Linked DNA regions of Homo sapiens: regions 1, 2, 4, 5 and 6 are each linked to region 3. Evidence: promoter capture Hi-C in 16 types of primary human blood cells and fetal thymus (Javierre and others, 2016). All regions are on one chromosome and are shown on one strand. The core of a region is centred on a gene start or on the middle of the fragment in contact, and the rest is flanking DNA. Distances in the headings are between cores, read along the strand shown. Region 1 has its middle 6.1 kb from the start of SLC6A3. Region 2 overlaps LPCAT1 (lysophosphatidylcholine acyltransferase 1). Region 3 holds the start of TERLR1 (TERT regulating lncRNA 1). Region 4 has its middle 39 kb from the start of MIR4277. Region 5 has its middle 4.6 kb from the start of LPCAT1. Region 6 has its middle 22 kb from the start of MIR4277.

Evidence for each region. The method cuts DNA at HindIII sites, captures the fragments that hold promoters and counts their contacts. A CHiCAGO score of 5 or more calls a contact.
Region 1: a fragment that was not itself captured here is called in contact with the fragment with the promoter of TERLR1 in region 3 in 1 of 17 cell types (total CD8 T cells); the score reaches 5.6 in total CD8 T cells.
Region 2: a fragment that was not itself captured here is called in contact with the fragment with the promoter of TERLR1 in region 3 in 7 of 17 cell types (naive CD4 T cells, naive CD8 T cells, total CD8 T cells and 4 more); the score reaches 8.0 in naive CD4 T cells.
Region 4: a fragment that was not itself captured here is called in contact with the fragment with the promoter of TERLR1 in region 3 in 12 of 17 cell types (monocytes, total CD8 T cells, M0 macrophages and 9 more); the score reaches 11.5 in monocytes.
Region 5: a contact is called between a fragment that was not itself captured here and the fragment with the promoter of TERLR1 in region 3, in 1 of 17 cell types (fetal thymus). The highest score is 5.1, in fetal thymus.
Region 6: a fragment that was not itself captured here is called in contact with the fragment with the promoter of TERLR1 in region 3 in 5 of 17 cell types (monocytes, naive B cells, total B cells and 2 more); the score reaches 9.4 in monocytes.

Annotation. Positions count from the first base shown.
Region 1 is chr5:1,450,164-1,452,863 of GRCh38, reverse strand. No RefSeq gene overlaps it. Among named protein-coding and RNA genes, the nearest start is that of SLC6A3, 6.1 kb to the right of the region's middle. The HindIII fragment of the contact is 3,197 bases long and covers 1-2,700 here.
Region 2 is chr5:1,468,082-1,470,781 of GRCh38, reverse strand. The region is part of intron 12 of LPCAT1 (lysophosphatidylcholine acyltransferase 1); the gene reads left to right. Among named protein-coding and RNA genes, the nearest start is that of SLC6A3, 24 kb to the right of the region's middle. The HindIII fragment of the contact is 2,319 bases long and covers 91-2,409 here.
Region 3 is chr5:1,177,310-1,180,009 of GRCh38, reverse strand. It overlaps TERLR1 (TERT regulating lncRNA 1), which reads left to right and starts at 1,405. Exons shown (of 5, transcript NR_109911.1): 1 at 1,405-1,572. LOC124900189 reads left to right here. Exons shown (of 8, transcript XM_047417960.1): 2 at 1-636; 3 at 731-1,572; 4 at 1,756-1,962. The coding sequence starts at 204. The coding sequence ends at 1,251. The HindIII fragment of the contact is 15,637 bases long and covers 1-2,700 here.
Region 4 is chr5:1,668,973-1,671,672 of GRCh38, reverse strand. No RefSeq gene overlaps it. Among named protein-coding and RNA genes, the nearest start is that of MIR4277, 39 kb to the left of the region's middle. The HindIII fragment of the contact is 274 bases long and covers 1,263-1,536 here.
Region 5 is chr5:1,527,252-1,529,951 of GRCh38, reverse strand. No RefSeq gene overlaps it. Among named protein-coding and RNA genes, the nearest start is that of LPCAT1, 4.6 kb to the right of the region's middle. The HindIII fragment of the contact is 1,380 bases long and covers 655-2,034 here.
Region 6 is chr5:1,685,023-1,687,722 of GRCh38, reverse strand. No RefSeq gene overlaps it. Among named protein-coding and RNA genes, the nearest start is that of MIR4277, 22 kb to the left of the region's middle. The HindIII fragment of the contact is 1,525 bases long and covers 532-2,056 here.

The DNA.
Region 1 (2,700 bases), core at 71-2,570, 270 kb before region 3:
ATCAGAACTTAGAAGAAAATCTAGACATGAAGCCTGCCTCAGAAAGGAATAATGATGAAAAATTGATGGCAGCCTCCACCCGAAGAAATCCCATGCGGGACTTTGGAAGAAATTGAAAAGTTGATTCCAAAATTCATATGAAAAAGCACAGGACCGAGAATATGCAAAACAACTTTGAAAATGAACAAAGTTGTCTGACTTACATTACCTGATTTAAAAATGTATTACAAAAGGACCATAATGAAGATAGTGCCATTTTAATCTCCTCAGGCTGCCACAACAAAATACACCAGATTTGGGGGCTTAACAGCAGACATTTGTTTCTCACAGTTCTGGAGACTGGAAATCCAACATCAAGGCAGCTGATTCAGTTCCTGGTGAGGCCTCTCTTCCTGGCTTGCAGATGGCCGCCTTCTTACTCTATCTTCACATGGCAGAAAGTAAAATGGAGAGAGCTTCCTCTTCTTATAAGGCCACAGTCCTCCTGGGTTATGACCCCACCCTTACAATTTAATTTAACCTAATCACCTCCTAAAGTCCCTATCTCCAGATAAAGTCACCTTGCGGGGGTTATGGCTTTAACCTATGAATTTGGGGGTAAACAATTCAGTCCACAGCAAGTGTGGTATTAGCATCAAAATGGATTAACAGATCATAAAACAGGGAGCCCAGAAATAAACCCACACACATACATACAACTGACTTTTCAACAAAGGTGCAAAAGCAACTCAGCAGAACACTGAACAACTGGCTCTTCGGAGGTAAAGTGGTGAACTTCAATTGGTGTCTTACACCAAGCTAGTTTAAAAATGCATTCTATGTGTAAATATGCAATCTATAATTTTAAAAAGTTTAGAGGAAAACTTAGGAGAAAATCTTGATGATCATGAATTTGGTAAAGATTTCTTAAATACAACACTAAAAGCAGGATTTGTGAAAGAAAAATGGATAAATTAGACTTCATCAAAATTAATAACTCTTCTCTGAAAGAATCTATTAAGAGAATGAAAAGACAGTCCAAGACTGGGAAAAATATTTGCAAAGTACCCATCTGATAAGGGACTGGTATCCAGAATAGTAAAGAACTCTCAAAGCTCAATTAAACAACCCAAAGGTGCAAAAGATTTGAACAGACACTTAACACGAAGTGGCACTGATGCAGCTAACACATGAGAAATTGTTCAAAGATCACGCTCATTAGAGCAGTATAGGAGATATTACTGTAAACATATTAGGATGTCTAAAATTTAAAAGACTGACCATACTAAGTATTCATTAGAATATGAAGTAACTAAAATTATCATACACTGTTCATGGAAATATAAAATGATACAACTACTTTGCAAAAGAATTTAACAGTTTTTAAAAAAATAGTTAAACATATATCTACCAAATGACCCAGCCATTCCACAACTAAGTACTTCTTACCTACCCCAAAGTAATGAGAGCCTATGTTCAAAGACTTGCACACAAATGTTCATAGTAGCTTTATTTGTAACAGCCAGATGTCCATCAATAGGCAGATGGAAAAGCCAAGTACATCATATCCCATATCCACACAATGGATACTACAAATAACTAAAAGGGAATTAACTGCCGATGCAATGATGTGGATTCTTCTCAAATATGCTGAATGCAAAAGAACAGACCCAGAAAACAGTACTTACTGTATAATTCTATTTATATAAAATTCTATTAAAAACACATTGTTCTGTAATCATAGAAAACAAATCATTCCAGCATTTTGGGAGGCCAAGGCGAGCTTATCACTTGAGGTTGGGAGTTCAAGACCAGCCTGGCCAACATAGTGAAACCCTGTTTCTACTAAAAATACAAAAATTAGCTGGGTGTGGTGGCGGGCATCTGTAATCCCAGCTACTTGGGAGGCTGAGGCAGGAGAATTGCTTGAACTGAGGAGGCAAAGGCTGCAGTGAGCTGAGATCGTGCCACTGCACTCCAGCCTAGGTGACAGAGTGAGACTCCGTCTCACAAAAAGAAAAAAAAAAAGAGCAAATCAGTGGTTGCCTGGGGATGGGAAGAGGTAAAGAGACACAGACAGAGGGAAGTCAGCGAGGGAGGAGCACCGCCATCATCTTCTGTGTGATCGCGTTGCCATGACCCCATCAGTCACTCACCAAATCGTACACTTGGAATATTGCATATCCATTACACCTCAGCAAGGCTGTTTTTAAAAAGACACAAATGCCGAGATAATTACAGAAAAAAAGTCCAATTAGTTTTGTTAGGATGGTGGAATCATGAAAGGCATCTCCTAGGTCCTCCAATGTTGTTCTTTTTCAAGATTCTTTTGGCTACTCTAGGTCACCCACATCTCCAAACACATTTTAGAACCAGCTGGTTAATTTCTTCAAAAAAGCAAGTTAGAATTTTGATTGAGATTGCATTGAATCTGTATGTCAATTTATGAAGAACTGACATCTCATTAATATTGAGCCTTTCAGTCATAAACATACACACTCCTCTGCTTGTCTAGACTTTCAAAAGTTTCTCACAGCAATGGATTCTAGGTTTTCGGTGCACAAGTCTCGGATACGGTTTATCCCCAAGCATTTTGTTTCGGATGCTATTGTAAGTGAAATTATTTTAGGTTTTATTTTAGAATTGTTTGCTGCCAGTACATAGAAATACAATTGGTTTTCATCAGATCCCATGGCCTTGCTAAATTCATTTATAAATTCT
Region 2 (2,700 bases), core at 1-2,500, 290 kb before region 3:
GCAGTCACGTCAGCACCATTGTTCATTTCTCTAGTTCCTTATAATATCAGTTAATTGATCATTTGCCCAACTGCTATTTTTACGTAAGCTTTTTATGCTAGCTGTTGTTTGTAAAATGCCCAGAAAACTCCCAGATTTATTTCTTCCTGGATTAGCAATCCACACTCATCAGAAAGCATGGCTGAGGTTCTTCCTGGGTCCTGGGGCACCTGGGTGGGGCTGGTGGTGTCACACACCATCACACACTACAGGGCACCTAACACAGGGGCCACACACCTTGTCCTCTCTCCCCCTCAGACTGGACTGGTGAAGAAAGCACGGCTTAGGAGCTGCCCACCTCAGCTAACCCCAGGGGCTACAACATGTCAGAGCCCAGTCATCACCACTGGGGGAGTCTGGGGTCCCAGCCCAGCTGCAGACTCCTGGGAAGCCCTCAGGACTTGCCTCACCACAGGGAGTCGCTGCTCCCTGGGGGCTGAGTGGGGTCTGGGTCAGGCCTGGAGGGCGGGAGGCCAGGTAACCCTGAGGGTTTGGCCTGGCCTATTCTGAGGCTCCAGCAGCACCAATGTGGATTTCATCTGGGATAGAGCTGGGCCGGCTTTGCCTGTACAGAGGCACAACTTTACCAAGGCTTCTCACAGGGTGTGACTCACATTAGCCAGACTCTCAAGGGCCTGATGTGTGAGTCAAGAAGCTGCATGTCTCTCACCGCTCCAAGAACTCCCTTCTCTTGCTTCTGATGCCAGCACACCCTCTCCATAGCAACACTGGGGAATGTCCCCACATGAAAAGGTGGCTTGTGGGGGTCTCCCCAGGCAGGATGAACTCGATGACCTCAACATTTGGCAGCTCTGTGTAAGAAAGCCTGACCTCCCTGCCTCCTCCAGGCCTGGGCAGCCTGCCTCCTAGGGCCCCTGATCTGAGCCAGGCCCTGTGGCCCTGCGGCCCCTGCTGGCCCTGCTTTCACTGTGCCCTGTTGTTTTTTTTTTTTTAATTTTTGTGAGATGGAGTCTCGCTCTGTTGTCCAGGCTGGAGTGCAGTGGTGCAATCTTGGCTCACTGCAACCAACCTCTGCCTCCCAGGTTCAAGTGATTCTCGTGCCTCAGCCTCCCAAGTAGCTGGGATTACAGGCTCGTGCCATGAAACCCAGCTAATTTTTGTAATTTTAGAAGAAACAGGGTTTCACCATGTTGGCCAGGCTGGTCTCAAACTCCTGGCCTCAAGTGATCCGCCCACCTCAGCATCCCAAAGTGCTGGGATTACAGGCATGAGCCACCGCCCCCCGTTCTGCTGGCCCCACCAGCCCCTGCTGTAGAGCCACCAAGTATAACCTGGAACGAATGACAGCAGCGGTGGGGGTGGCAGTTGCCTTGTTTCTCAACATGAACAATGGGCTGTGGAGCCCGACCTTCCTCCTGCACAGGCCCCACCTGCAGGTGGGCAGGGTAACTGGCTGTGGTAGGGTTGAGGACGCCCACTGGGGAGGACAGTGTGCACCGGGTCCCTGCTTGGGGTGGGGTATGTGCCACTAGGAGGTCTTTCTCAGGTGAACCAGGCGATGGGTGAGGCCTAGGCTGCCCTACAGTGACCACCTGGGGGCAGGATGGGTGATCACTTCTCACAGGCTTCCAGGCCGCTGATATGGCTGCGTCCCCACGGCGACACCAGGGTCCCGCCTCACCTCCACCCTCAGCAGCTCCGCCCTGACGGCATATGCCCTGCCTTCCTCCCACCTTCTTGCAGGCTGCTTCCCCATGTCCCTTTCTGCAGCCTATACCTTTCATGGTGTCATCATTTCCTGAAGTCATGGCCATTGTGCTTTGCTGCTGCTCTGGGAGCCTGGCACATTTTGGGGGGACTGCATGTAGCAGGAAGGGCTTCCACGGAGCAGTCTCGTGTGAGAGAGCGTGGCAAGTGCACCAGCGTGCTGCTCTTGGGACACAGAGATCCAGGAAGCTGCCCCCCAGGCTGACTGTGGACACAGAACTCCTAGCACCTAGGACCCCAGAGGCACACGCCGGTGCTCAGGACTCCGGATGCGCAGCGCACCGATGTGCTTCATACGCCTTGGGGCCCCTTGTTTTTGTTCTTTTTCGTTATCATTACTGTGTAAAACCTTAAGATGTGGCCCTGGTAAAACTTCCAGCGGCTCAGAGAGTGGACAGTGAGAACCTGAAGTCTGTTGCCTGTGGTAGCCTCAGTCCTACCTCTGCGTTTCCCGTGCAGCATCTACACGAGGCTCCGAGGATGAAAGTCTGCATCTGCAGTTCTCATGTCCAAATGGACACAGATGTCAGGTTGTCCCCTCTGAAGCAGCCTTGCAACCACTAGGGGGCAGGAGGCACTGCTCTCTGGGGGCTGAGTGGGATCCAGGTCGGCCGAGGAGCTGGAGGCCGTGGCCCTGAAGCTTTGACCCGGCCCGTTCTGAGGCTCCAGCAGCACCAACGTGGATTTCGTCTGCAGATGTTTGATTCAGCAAATCTAAAAGCAGGAGAGAAACGTAGACCACAGAAGACAGGGTGGCCGCGTGCGGCAGCGCTGTGGGATGAGGCCCAGGGGAGGGAGAGTGGAGGGTGAGGATGGGGTCTCCAGAGCCTGGAGCAGACCCGGTCCATGGGGTAGAGGCAGAGCCCCGGGAAGAGGGTGTGAACGCGGGGACAGCTTGCCAGGCCGGAAGGCTGGAGGCGTCAGCGTTTCTTC
Region 3 (2,700 bases), core at 156-2,655:
CTGCCACTTCTCATGAAACTGACAGGGACTGAACACGAATGATGTGGCTTATAGCTGGGTGCCCCCACCCTGACCACAGGTGCCACGCGACGGGAGCCACATTCTCTTCCTGATTCTAACTCCACGGGTACAGAGACAGAAGCTGCCATCTTTAGAAATAAAACTTTTTTCTAACTACAAAATAATACAGTTTAATATAGGAAATGTGGAAAATGGGGTATTCGGGGTGGATATTGAGAAGAGAGAAGCAACACCAATTCTATGTGCGAGACGCTGGCACTTCCCAGCGTAGCCTTGTGTTCCTGACCCTGGGGTGGCCTGAGCGTGGCCTGTGGGGCCCGTGTCCAGGTGCGGAGGGGGCCCTGAGTCGTGCGGGGCAAGTGGTCAGGGCCCCAGGCCCAGGCTGCCTGGAGCGAGATGACTGGGCCTGGCCCCTGGGGACTTGCTCTGACAAAACCCCCCGGTCCCCACTCCTGAGCCCCTGCAGGAGCAGCCCTGGGAACATGGGGAGCAGCTCCTTCTGCCTATGTGCTCCGGACTCAGGAACTCTGGAGAGAAGAAACACAACCCCACAGGCCCCGCCTGCCTCTCCTGCAGTCTTGAGGCCCCAGGGAAAGCCCCCACTGCAGGCAGGGGGTGGGTGCCCGAGCGAGGGTGTGGGGTGAGCAGGGTCCTGGGCATGTCAGGGCTGCGTGGGACTCCAGCGGGCCGGGTGCCTCTCGCCCTGCAGGACGTGGCTGGCCTGGTCTGCCCCCAGCTGAGCCTCACCTGAGGGAGAGCTGGGGTGGGCCGCCTCGTTTACGACCGTGTAGTCGTCTTTTGCACACAAAGCCATGTGAGTCCGTACGTGAGTCCTGTGGAAAGACAAGACATGGAATAGGAGTGACGTCCGTCCCCAGGCATGAAGTGGAGAGCATCACGCTGTGTGAGTTAAACACTGGCCAAGCACGGTGTGAGTCGGAGCCGGGGACCTGGCCAGATGAGGGCTGCGTGCAGCTTTCACACCCCAGGCACGTGAGCACCGCCAAGCCCAGCCTCAGCCAGCAGCTGCTCTGCAATGTGGAGTCACCAGTGGCCCCAAGGATGGCAGGTGGGGGTGGCCTTGGGACTGAATTAGGCCGACACCCAAGGCCTCTGTTCCTTCCCGTCCCTTCTCTCCCTTCGGAGGATCAAATGAGAGTTTCTAGGAAAGAAAACATGGCCAGGCCCTCCTCCAGCGCCCAGGCAGGGCTCGAGCGGACGCCCGTGTGACCCCCACATCCCTTCTACCCCTGTAGCTCTCTGACTCTGATATCCCAGTGGGAGGAACGAGGAGGGGACGGGTGAGGAGGAGGAAGAGGAGGAGACATGAGGGTTAGGAGGAGCACATCCTGAGTTTGTGAGGCTTCACTGACCTCTGGCCTCACAAACACACACAGGCCTGAGCTCCGGATATTTCTCCTGTTCTGGAGACAGTGAGAAGTGAAAGAGAAATGGCTGCCCCTGCACCACTTACCGCGAAGGAGGCTCAAGGCTGGGGGGCCCCTCTGCCTTCCAGTGACCGCCCGTGTCACATCCTGACCCGCTCAGCAGGTGAGCTGCAGGCTGCCAATGCACTGGTGCTACTTGCCCCTCGGTGTCTGGGTGGCTTTTGTGTGGCTGCGGCAGCTTGTGGGCCCACATCCCAGGCACGGGTGGTCCTGAAGGTGCTGGGGAAGGGACATGCCCTGGGAGGCAGGATGTCCACACTAAGTGAGTTGCTCGCCTCCACTGGAGGAGAGACGGCCAGAGGCATGGATGCACGCTGACTCGTGGACGGCCGCTGTTTGACGAGACCATCAAGGAGGGAGGAGCACCCGTGGAAAGGCGTGGCAGGGTGGTCGGGGCAGAGGTGTACATCAGCCTATCCAATGCTCACGGCTGGAGGACGCCGCGCCCTGTGAATGCTCACTGAGGACCATCCCGGGCACTGGGGCTCTCCATGTGAGAATGGACAATATGCTGCCTTCCCAGCTGCCCCATCCTTCCTGCGAGAGCTTGGGGATGGGTGGCCACAGTGGCACTGGGGAGAACACGAGGGCTCCCCAGCAAGCGTTTTCTCTCATGGAGGTGGCTCTGGTCACAGCGTCACTGCAGGGCGCAGCCACGGTGGCGGCCAATGGAAACTGGGCTCTTCTTTTTCTTTTTTTTTTTGAGACAGAGTCTCGCTCTGTCACCCAGGCTGGAGTACAATGGCAGGATCTCGGCTCACTGCAACATCCACCTCCCGGGTTCAAGTGATTCTCCTGCCTCAGCCTCCTGAGTAGCTGGGATTACAGGTGCCAGCCACCACGCCCGGCTAATTTTTGTATTTTTAGTAGAGACAGGGTTTCACCATGTTGGTCAGGCTGTCTCGAACTCCTGACCTCGTGATCTGCCCGCCTTGGCCTTCTCAAAGTGCTGGGATTACAGACATGAGCCACCGCGCCCGGCCAAAACTGGGCTTTTCTACGGTGGGGAGAGCAGAGCTATTCTCTCTGGGGTGGGTGCTTGTCTGGGACTTGTCACCATCCCTTACTCCAGGGCTGTCTTCAGCACTGTCGCCCACAGTCTTTCCGAACGCCTTATTCAGATGTTATAATTTCCCACACGATGTTCCTGACCAAGAAACGCATTTTACAGCAAAGGGGTGAGGAACGGATCTGTGGCCATAGGATCCCAGAGCCGTGTCCCCGCCACTCA
Region 4 (2,700 bases), core at 150-2,649, 490 kb before region 3:
TTTTTAGTGGCGATAATACGTACGAGTCCTTTTTAATGCTTTAACATGGGGATTGATGCCACCGTCACAGGGCAGCCACGCCCCTCGCCCGAGACTCTGGGAGTTGCTCTGCAACAGCACTTGGGAGGCCTGGGGTGCCTCCCATGGACACAGCACCATCCGTTTTCAAGCGATCACTTTAAGAGAAGCGCCATGAATGAAATCCATCAGCCACCCTAAGTTTCTCCAGCATATGGCTGGCTCATGAAAACAGAAATGCCCTCCAACTTCAACCTATGAGGCCTTGAGCCTGTTTGGGCAGGAGCTGGTGCTTCTGGTGCTGCGGCCAGATGCTGTGCCTGGTACCTCAAGCATGAAATCAAGAAAACTCTTCCAGCTCAGGTTTATGACATTACTGGTCAATGTCACAGAGGAATACAAAGCTTCTCTATCTTTCCTAACCACGCAGTCCATGCTTGGGCAATTCACTGAACAATGGCGATGAAACACCCTCATCTCTATCTCTGCACGCCAAACACAGAATTCTCTCTTGGCCCCCTTACAGGGCTGATGTATGAGCCAAACCTGGCCCAAGGAGGAGTCCCAAAAGGTTGCAGAAGAGCCGATTATCCACCCCATGATACCCACATTCCCACCCGCCTTCCATCTCTCAGGAATCAGGAATCAGAAGGGGTCTACTTTTCCCAGAAAACCTTTATTGCTTCTACCTGGGTACTTTCACTGGTCCCAGGAAGGGAGAACACATTCAGGTAGGATTAAGTTCTACTGTTTCCAAATTTGGAAAGGAAAGTTCTTTTGTCCTCCAACATTTGGGAAGGAGAAGTGATGCTTAAAAGAGAGCCCCTCAATGGAGTATCTCAAGGCTCTTCAAACAGGTGACTTCGTCTTATGAATAAATTATGGAAACTCCTTCTTCTTCCAGAGTTAGCAATGTTACAATTAATTATGTACCTGATGACAATGGATTTGGAAATATGGAAACGTGTCATGAATGTCTCAATGTGTGATCAAGACTTTTCTGTAAGTAGCTGAGTCACCATCACCAGAACCTCTTCCTCTTGCAAATGAGCCTTCAGCTGCAGACTAGACTCCCAGGATGGTGGGCAGGTCAGCTGATGGGGTGAGTGCATGTGCATGTGGGAGCCACACACGTGTGTGACTAACTGCATTTGGCACTATTTATTGTCTGTGCTTCTTTTCCTTTGTAAGAGCATTAAAAATTGACCACAGTATGTCATCATCCCAACTCTCCTTAAGAAGCTTCACTTTTCTTTCATGCTGCTAGCCTGCTGTAAGCATTTGTCTTGCTTTTAGATATTACCTAAGATAATAGAATTCCAAAGTAGACACCTACATTCTCAGCTTTTGAACTTTCCCTGTGACTTATGTGTCCTGAGCACAAGGCCATCTTTATATTGCGATGAACAGAATCTGGCTGAAGATTTCTATACACTGTCTCCTTCCCACTCCGTGCAGTGCACATCTGTGCTTGGCAAGCCTGCAATGCTCACAGCCCCTGCTTGAGGGTGGAAAGCTTCAAACACCCAGGGAGTCCTGTGCCTGAGCCAGCTTTGCTCGTCCAGGTCCAAGGTAGACAAGTGGGGTTTAGGGGTGAATGGGGGGTGGGCCCTGCTCATCACCTTCCTCAAGCTGAGAGTGCTGATGGACAGGGCCTCCACAGTACTCAGCCCTTACCCTTCACCCTTATCCTCAGCTTTACACAATGGACGTGACAAGGCAAACCCTGGCCTGAGGAAAGGGGGTCCACACTCTGTCCTGTTTCCAGGCCTGGGAACCCCCGGCTCTCTGTGTGCTGTGGAAAGGGCTGGAGGGAGCCGGTGTGCAGCTGCTGGGCTTCTGCAGATGTGCGTCCTCAGAGCTTGGTGCCCCCGGCTTTCTTTGCCGTGCCGTTCTCTGTGGCACAAGTCTTCTTTTTAGCTGAAGCCTCCTTCTGTAGACCCCAGGCCCCTCCCTGTCCTCTCCTCTGAGAGGTATGGCACTTGACTAGGCAGCCAAGAAATCCTGATGCTGGCAGGGTCCACGGGAACAGGCTGGGCAGGACCATGGTCAGGGGTCTGTCTTAGACACAGCCCTTACCAGATAGCTGAGGCCCTACAGAGGCGTAGAGGGCCAGGGAAGTCACTGCCCTACTGCCACATACCCAGGATGCATGGTTCACCATGCCCCCAGCTCTGGCACTCACACAAGCCCACAAGTTCAGGGTCCCAGCTCTCTTGCACAAACCCTGTCCCCACCCTGCTGGCTCATCATGCCTCAGATACACATGAGCCTCAGATTCATGTGGCCAGATCTTAGCCTCCTTCATCACCAGGTCTGCTGGCTGCATGCTGTGAACCCCAAAATTCTGAGACAGGTCTCAATTTAGAAAGTTTATTTTGCCAAGGTTGAGGCTGCGCAGCTGTGACAGCCTCAGGAGGTCCTGCCGACATGTACCCAAGGTGGTCAGAGCACAGCTTGGTTTTATATATTTTAGGGAGATATGGGACATCAATCAGCATGTGTAAGATGAACATTGGTTTGGTCTGGAAACGTGGGACAATTCAAAGCAAAGGCGGGACAACTCGAGGAAGGGCTTCCAGGTCAAAGGTAGGTAAGAGACAGATGGCTGCGTTCTTTTGAGCTTGTGATGAGCCTCTCCAAAGGAGGCAATCAGATCTGCATTCATCTCAGTGAGCAGGG
Region 5 (2,700 bases), core at 95-2,594, 350 kb before region 3:
GCCTACAAAGTAAATACATAAAATCAGTTGTAGTTCTATATACGAGCAACACACTTCTGGAAATTGAAATTAAGAAGCAGTATCATTTATAACAGCATCAAAACATGAAATAGGAACAGAATTCGAAAACCTATGTAAGACCTATGCAGTGAAAATTATAAAACATTGCTGAGGGAAATTAAAGAAAACCTAAATAAATGATCTGTATACCATGCTCATGGATGGATAACTCAATATTGCTAAGATGGCAATTTTCCCAAATTGATCAATAGATTCAACACAATCTCATTAAAAATCCCACCAACCTTTTGTTTGTTTGTTCCTGGATACTTCAGTTTCTTGACAAAATGATTCTAAAATTTTGGCTGGGCATGGTGGCTCACACCTGTCATCCCAGCACTTTGGGAGGCCAAGGCGGGCAGATTACCTGAGGTCAGGAGTTCGAGACCAGCCTGGCCAACATGGTGAAACCCCGTCTCTACTAAAAAATATAAAAATTAGCTGGGCGTGCTGGTGCATGCCTGTAGTCCCAGCTACTCCGAAGGCTGAGACAGGAGAATCGCTTGAACTCAGGAGGCGGAGTCTGCAGTGAGCCGAGATCGGGCCACTGCACTCCAGTGCAGTGCAGTCTAATTTCAAGACTAATATAAAGCTTTAGTAATCAGTATAGTGTGATGTTGGCAGTTGCAGATGTACAGATCCATGGAACAAAATACAGAGTCCAGGAATAGACTCAACTATACATATATGGCCACTTAATTTTTTTACAAAGTTGTCAAGGTAGTTCAATGGAGAAAGAATATTCTCTTCAACAAATGGTGCCGAAACAGTTGAATATTCAGACGAAAACATTTGAAACTAAAAAACCTCTGCCTCCACTTTACTTTATGCCGTGTACAAATGTCAACTTGAAATGGAATACAGACCTAAATGGTAAAGCCAAAACTGTAAAACTTCTGAAGTAAGAAAATCTGAATGACCTTGATGCAGGTAAATATTTATAAAAGAGGATACCAAAACCATGATCCCTAAAAGAAAACGCTGATAAATTGGACTTCATCAAAATTTAAAATATCTGCTCTTTGAAAGACACTATCACTGCTTAACAAACCATCTCAGTCTGTAGTGACTGAAAACCACCACAATTTTCTGTTTGTCATGATTGTGGGTTGAATAGGAAGTCCATCCATTGTACATGATGGAGTCCCTCACTCTGGGGCTGTGCACTCCTCATCTGGAACATCCACAGGTCCTCTTGTACCCTGGGGTCTGTCTTCATACAACCTCTACACAAGCAGTAGTGGTTCTCCATATAATCCATACTGTCAAGAGTAATTTTTTTTTTTGAAAGAGAGTCTCGCTCTGTTCTTGCCCAGGCTGGAGTACAGTGGCGTGATCTTGGCTCACTGCAACCTCTGTCTCCCAGGTTCAAGCAATCCTCCTGCCTCAGCCTCCCGGGTAGCTGGGACTACAGGCGTGTGCCACCACACCTGGCTAATTGTCATATTTTTAGTAGAGATGGGGTTTTGCCATGTTGGCCAGGCTGGTCTCGAACTCCTGACCTCAGATGATCCGCCCACCTCGGCGTCCCAAAGTGCTGAGATTACAGGCATGAGCCACCGCGCCCGGCCCAAGAGTAATTTTTGAAACGATTATTACATCACTGCAGAAGTATGAAGCATCAAGGAATTAACAAAAATACAGAATCTTTATGTAGAAAAATTTAAAATGCTATCAAAGGGCATGAAAGAACATCTAAATAAATGGTAGAATAACCATGTTGGTGAAAAATCGTTCTCAAAATTATAAAGTGTCCATGCCACATCATCCATTTAAAAAATTTTTTTTTTGTATTTTCTAGTGCTTTGAAGCCTTGGAGCCTTGGAGCCTTGCTGGCCCTTCGAGGGCCCCTCCCAGGACCAGCCAGCTCTTACTGAAGTAACATTCTTAGGGAACAGGGAGAATGAACAGTAAGAATGAAGTAACATTCTTACTGAAGTACCCTGTACAATTAATGTGATTCAAAAGGAAGCTTCCAGCGGGAATTTTTAGCAATGGGGACAACTGCTTCCAAAATTTGGATGGAAAAATAAAATTCCCTGAATTCCTACTACAATTCTTGGGAAGAAGCGCCAACAGGAAGGAACCCCCTCTACAGTTACTAAGGCAGACGGTTGAAAGGTGTGAGACAGGAGTAAAGGAGTACGCGGACCGGCGGGTGAGACGGGAGTAAAGGAGTACACGGACCAATGGGTGAGATGGGGCAGCCAGAAGGAGCTTCAGGAACCCTTCTTTCTGTTCATGCTGGAAGTGGACCCACAAGTGGGAGTCTGTGATTGATACGTGGTGTTGAGAATATCAGGTCTCCATGCAGAGAAAAAAATCTTCAAATAGAATAAAATGCAACCATGAAAGGCAGAACTGAAAAAAGATGTTAGTAGAAAATGAAGGAGAATATCTTTTTCTATCCTATAGATAACTCTAAAATTCAAAAATTAAACAAACAAAACAAAAATACTCAGCCTTACCAGAACAAGCAGGTACCTTGTGTTCTCAATGCACTTGGAGTATAGGAAACACTTCTCTGTGAGCTTACACTCTTAAAACAGAGACAAAACCAGAGCAAGAAGCCTCAGGGGTGTGGTTACCAGCCCCAGGGAGCTGTGGGGGGCTTCCAGGAGGTTCCTGAGAACCACAGTG
Region 6 (2,700 bases), core at 45-2,544, 510 kb before region 3:
CTTTAGGCCTCAGAAAAACCACTGGAGTGGGTGAGCTCCAGAAGCTACGGCCTTTTTAACCCCACATCACCACTGCCTTTGGCTCTGCAGTGGCCACTGGCCGTGCGCTGCCCATGGGGCAGAGCCCCAGCCTCACACTGGATCCCCAGCCCGGGTGCAGGCTTGCCCTGCAGAGCCAAGGTTGCCTCTCAGCATTTTTCCAAGAGAAGCTTCCCGGGCATCAAGGCCAGAAGGCAGACCACGTTGCAGAAAACGCAGCCCAAGACGTCTTCCCTGAGCCCCAGAGGGGTGTGCATTGTTCAGGCTGCCCCACATGCAAAGACCCCACATGCAAAGACATAGGCTTAGGCATGAGGGTGGAATAAGCCATGCTGGAGGGTGCAGGGGAGAGCTCCTCATGCTTCAATATAACGTTGTGATGTAGGGGCTGAGAAACGTGGGCCCAAAACAGCACTGTCTGGAGACCCTGAAGAGACGCAAGTTCCCAGGCCCACTCCCAGAATGGCCCAGGAACCAGAGCCACTGGAAGCTTCCTGGGCCATGCCTGTTGGACTGCTGTGTGTGGTCACGCTCCTCTTCTGTTAGAAACATCACCTGTCCCATGCGGCTGGAGTGATGGGGCAGGAGAGGCAGGCAGTGGATTATTTATAAGATGGTACTTCACACCAAGGCTGTGCAGGAGCCTGCACCACACGGCATGGGGTCCCTGGAGAGGAGCGCAGCCTGGAAATGACAAGTGCGTCCAGCTGCAGCAGGCGCAGCTCTCAGGTGGGCTTCCCTCCTCCAGGGTTGACCAGGGAGAGTACTTGGATCCCAGGGAGAGAGAAAGCGGGCAGAACGTGGGTCCCCCTCAAGAGTGGTGTGCAAGGGCCAAGGCGAGACCTGAGCATCAGGGAGGGTGTGGACTCGCCCCACCTTGGCTGGGGCACAACTGGCTGAACTGAACCTCACAGGTGCCCCCACTCTTCCTGCCCCTCGAGATCCACCAGCACTGGGGCACCCCCGACCCTGCCCAGGGAGAGCAGCTCTGGGTGCCCCTTTTCCAGCAGAGCATCTTTCAATCAGCCATGCGTGGGGCTCACACTCCCTGTCACCAGGCAGCTCACCTGGCAGGACAGCCTCGCCCGGCCTCTCACGCTCTTTGAGGTCATGTGCCCTGTGGCCATGCTCCAAGGCCCCCCTGTGGCTTGGGGATACCATGTGATTCTCTCTTCCTCCAGGAGGCCGAGCCTGCTGTCACTTGCTGGTTCCCGGAGAGTAGGGAGCCAGCAGCCCAAGGACATTCCACAGCCTCGGGGGCTGCCCTACGGCCTGGTTGCTCTCAGCCCACACTGCTGTTCAGCCTCCAGACATCCCCAGTGGGAGGGGTCAGAGGCACCTGCTGGCCAGGTGAGCTTCCCAGATCAGCAGCGCCCTGTCCCCAGCTCCTCCAGGTCCATGCATTCCTTGCTCCTACCTCAACGCAGGAGACAGCGGAAGGGGCCCGGCCAGCTGTGCAGGCCAGTCACAGGGCAGCTCCAGGAGTTGGGTGTACTCTGGGATGTTGCTAAGAGTGACACCATGGAGACAAGTATGCCTTCTCACAGAACACCCCTTATGTCACCGTCAGAGTCAGAAACCCGGGCTGTGTGGACACAGGGATGACTCCGCTGCGATATTCTTGCATAAAGGTCATCTGGTATGTATCTCAACAGCTACAACTTTTTCTGATGGAGAAAATAATTAAATTATTTATTTCTGGTTATGCACTGATGCTTATACATATACCCTCACCACACACGCACCTGGGCTCACACACACGCATCTGGTTACGCACTGAGGCTTATACATATACCCTCAGCACACGCGCACATGCACTCACACACATGCACACACAACCACTCACATGTGCACTCAGAGGCCGGAAAGTCTGTGTCTTTTCTACAATTTTCTATTTATTGCAGCCATCTTTCTTCCCATTTGTCATCTCTTAATCTTACTCACTGGTATGCAGTGCTTAAGGAAATAGAATGTTTAGGATGTGAAGTGCCTCCGCAGAGCCTGCTTCAACAAAGCTTATCGTAAGAGGCCTGGAAGCATTTAGAGTTAAAAGAGACAGAGCGAATCATGTCTGACAGTTCGCCCTTCCTGTGGAATGCTCAGGGTGTCCCCTAAGAAAAGCCTTGGACAAAATCACCATCCTCGGCTCATCTCCTGCATAAGGTTTCCTTCTGCACTTCAGAGATTCATAAGATCAACTGATACACCTTTGTGCCCAGCCAAGAAAGAAACCAACCCAAAACACTACAGCAAAATATTAGCACAGAACGGGTGGTTCACGGCACTGAAGTACACATTTTGTGGATCTCAGTGTGAAGCAGGTGCTGCGCGGCAGTGGTGTTGGGAAACTTCTTACCGTATTTGCATCTGTGTTTCAACAGATGGGGCTCACGCCTGAGTGGGTGGATATTACCAGACCACGTGCTCATTGTCCACACAGGATGCTCACGCTGATGCATCTTGCTTTGCGCCTCTGTCTCTGTCAGGCTGAGAGAGACTGTGATAAATGGATCACAGGGAGAGTTGGGCTCTGCTGCAATTTTCCTGGCTGTTCATATAGGCCAAGCTGCTTTCAGGGCAAAAGTCAGACTTTGGGGAACCCACGCTGATTTTGTTTCATTTTCCTGAACACCGTTGAAGGTTAATTGTAAGATTTCTGAC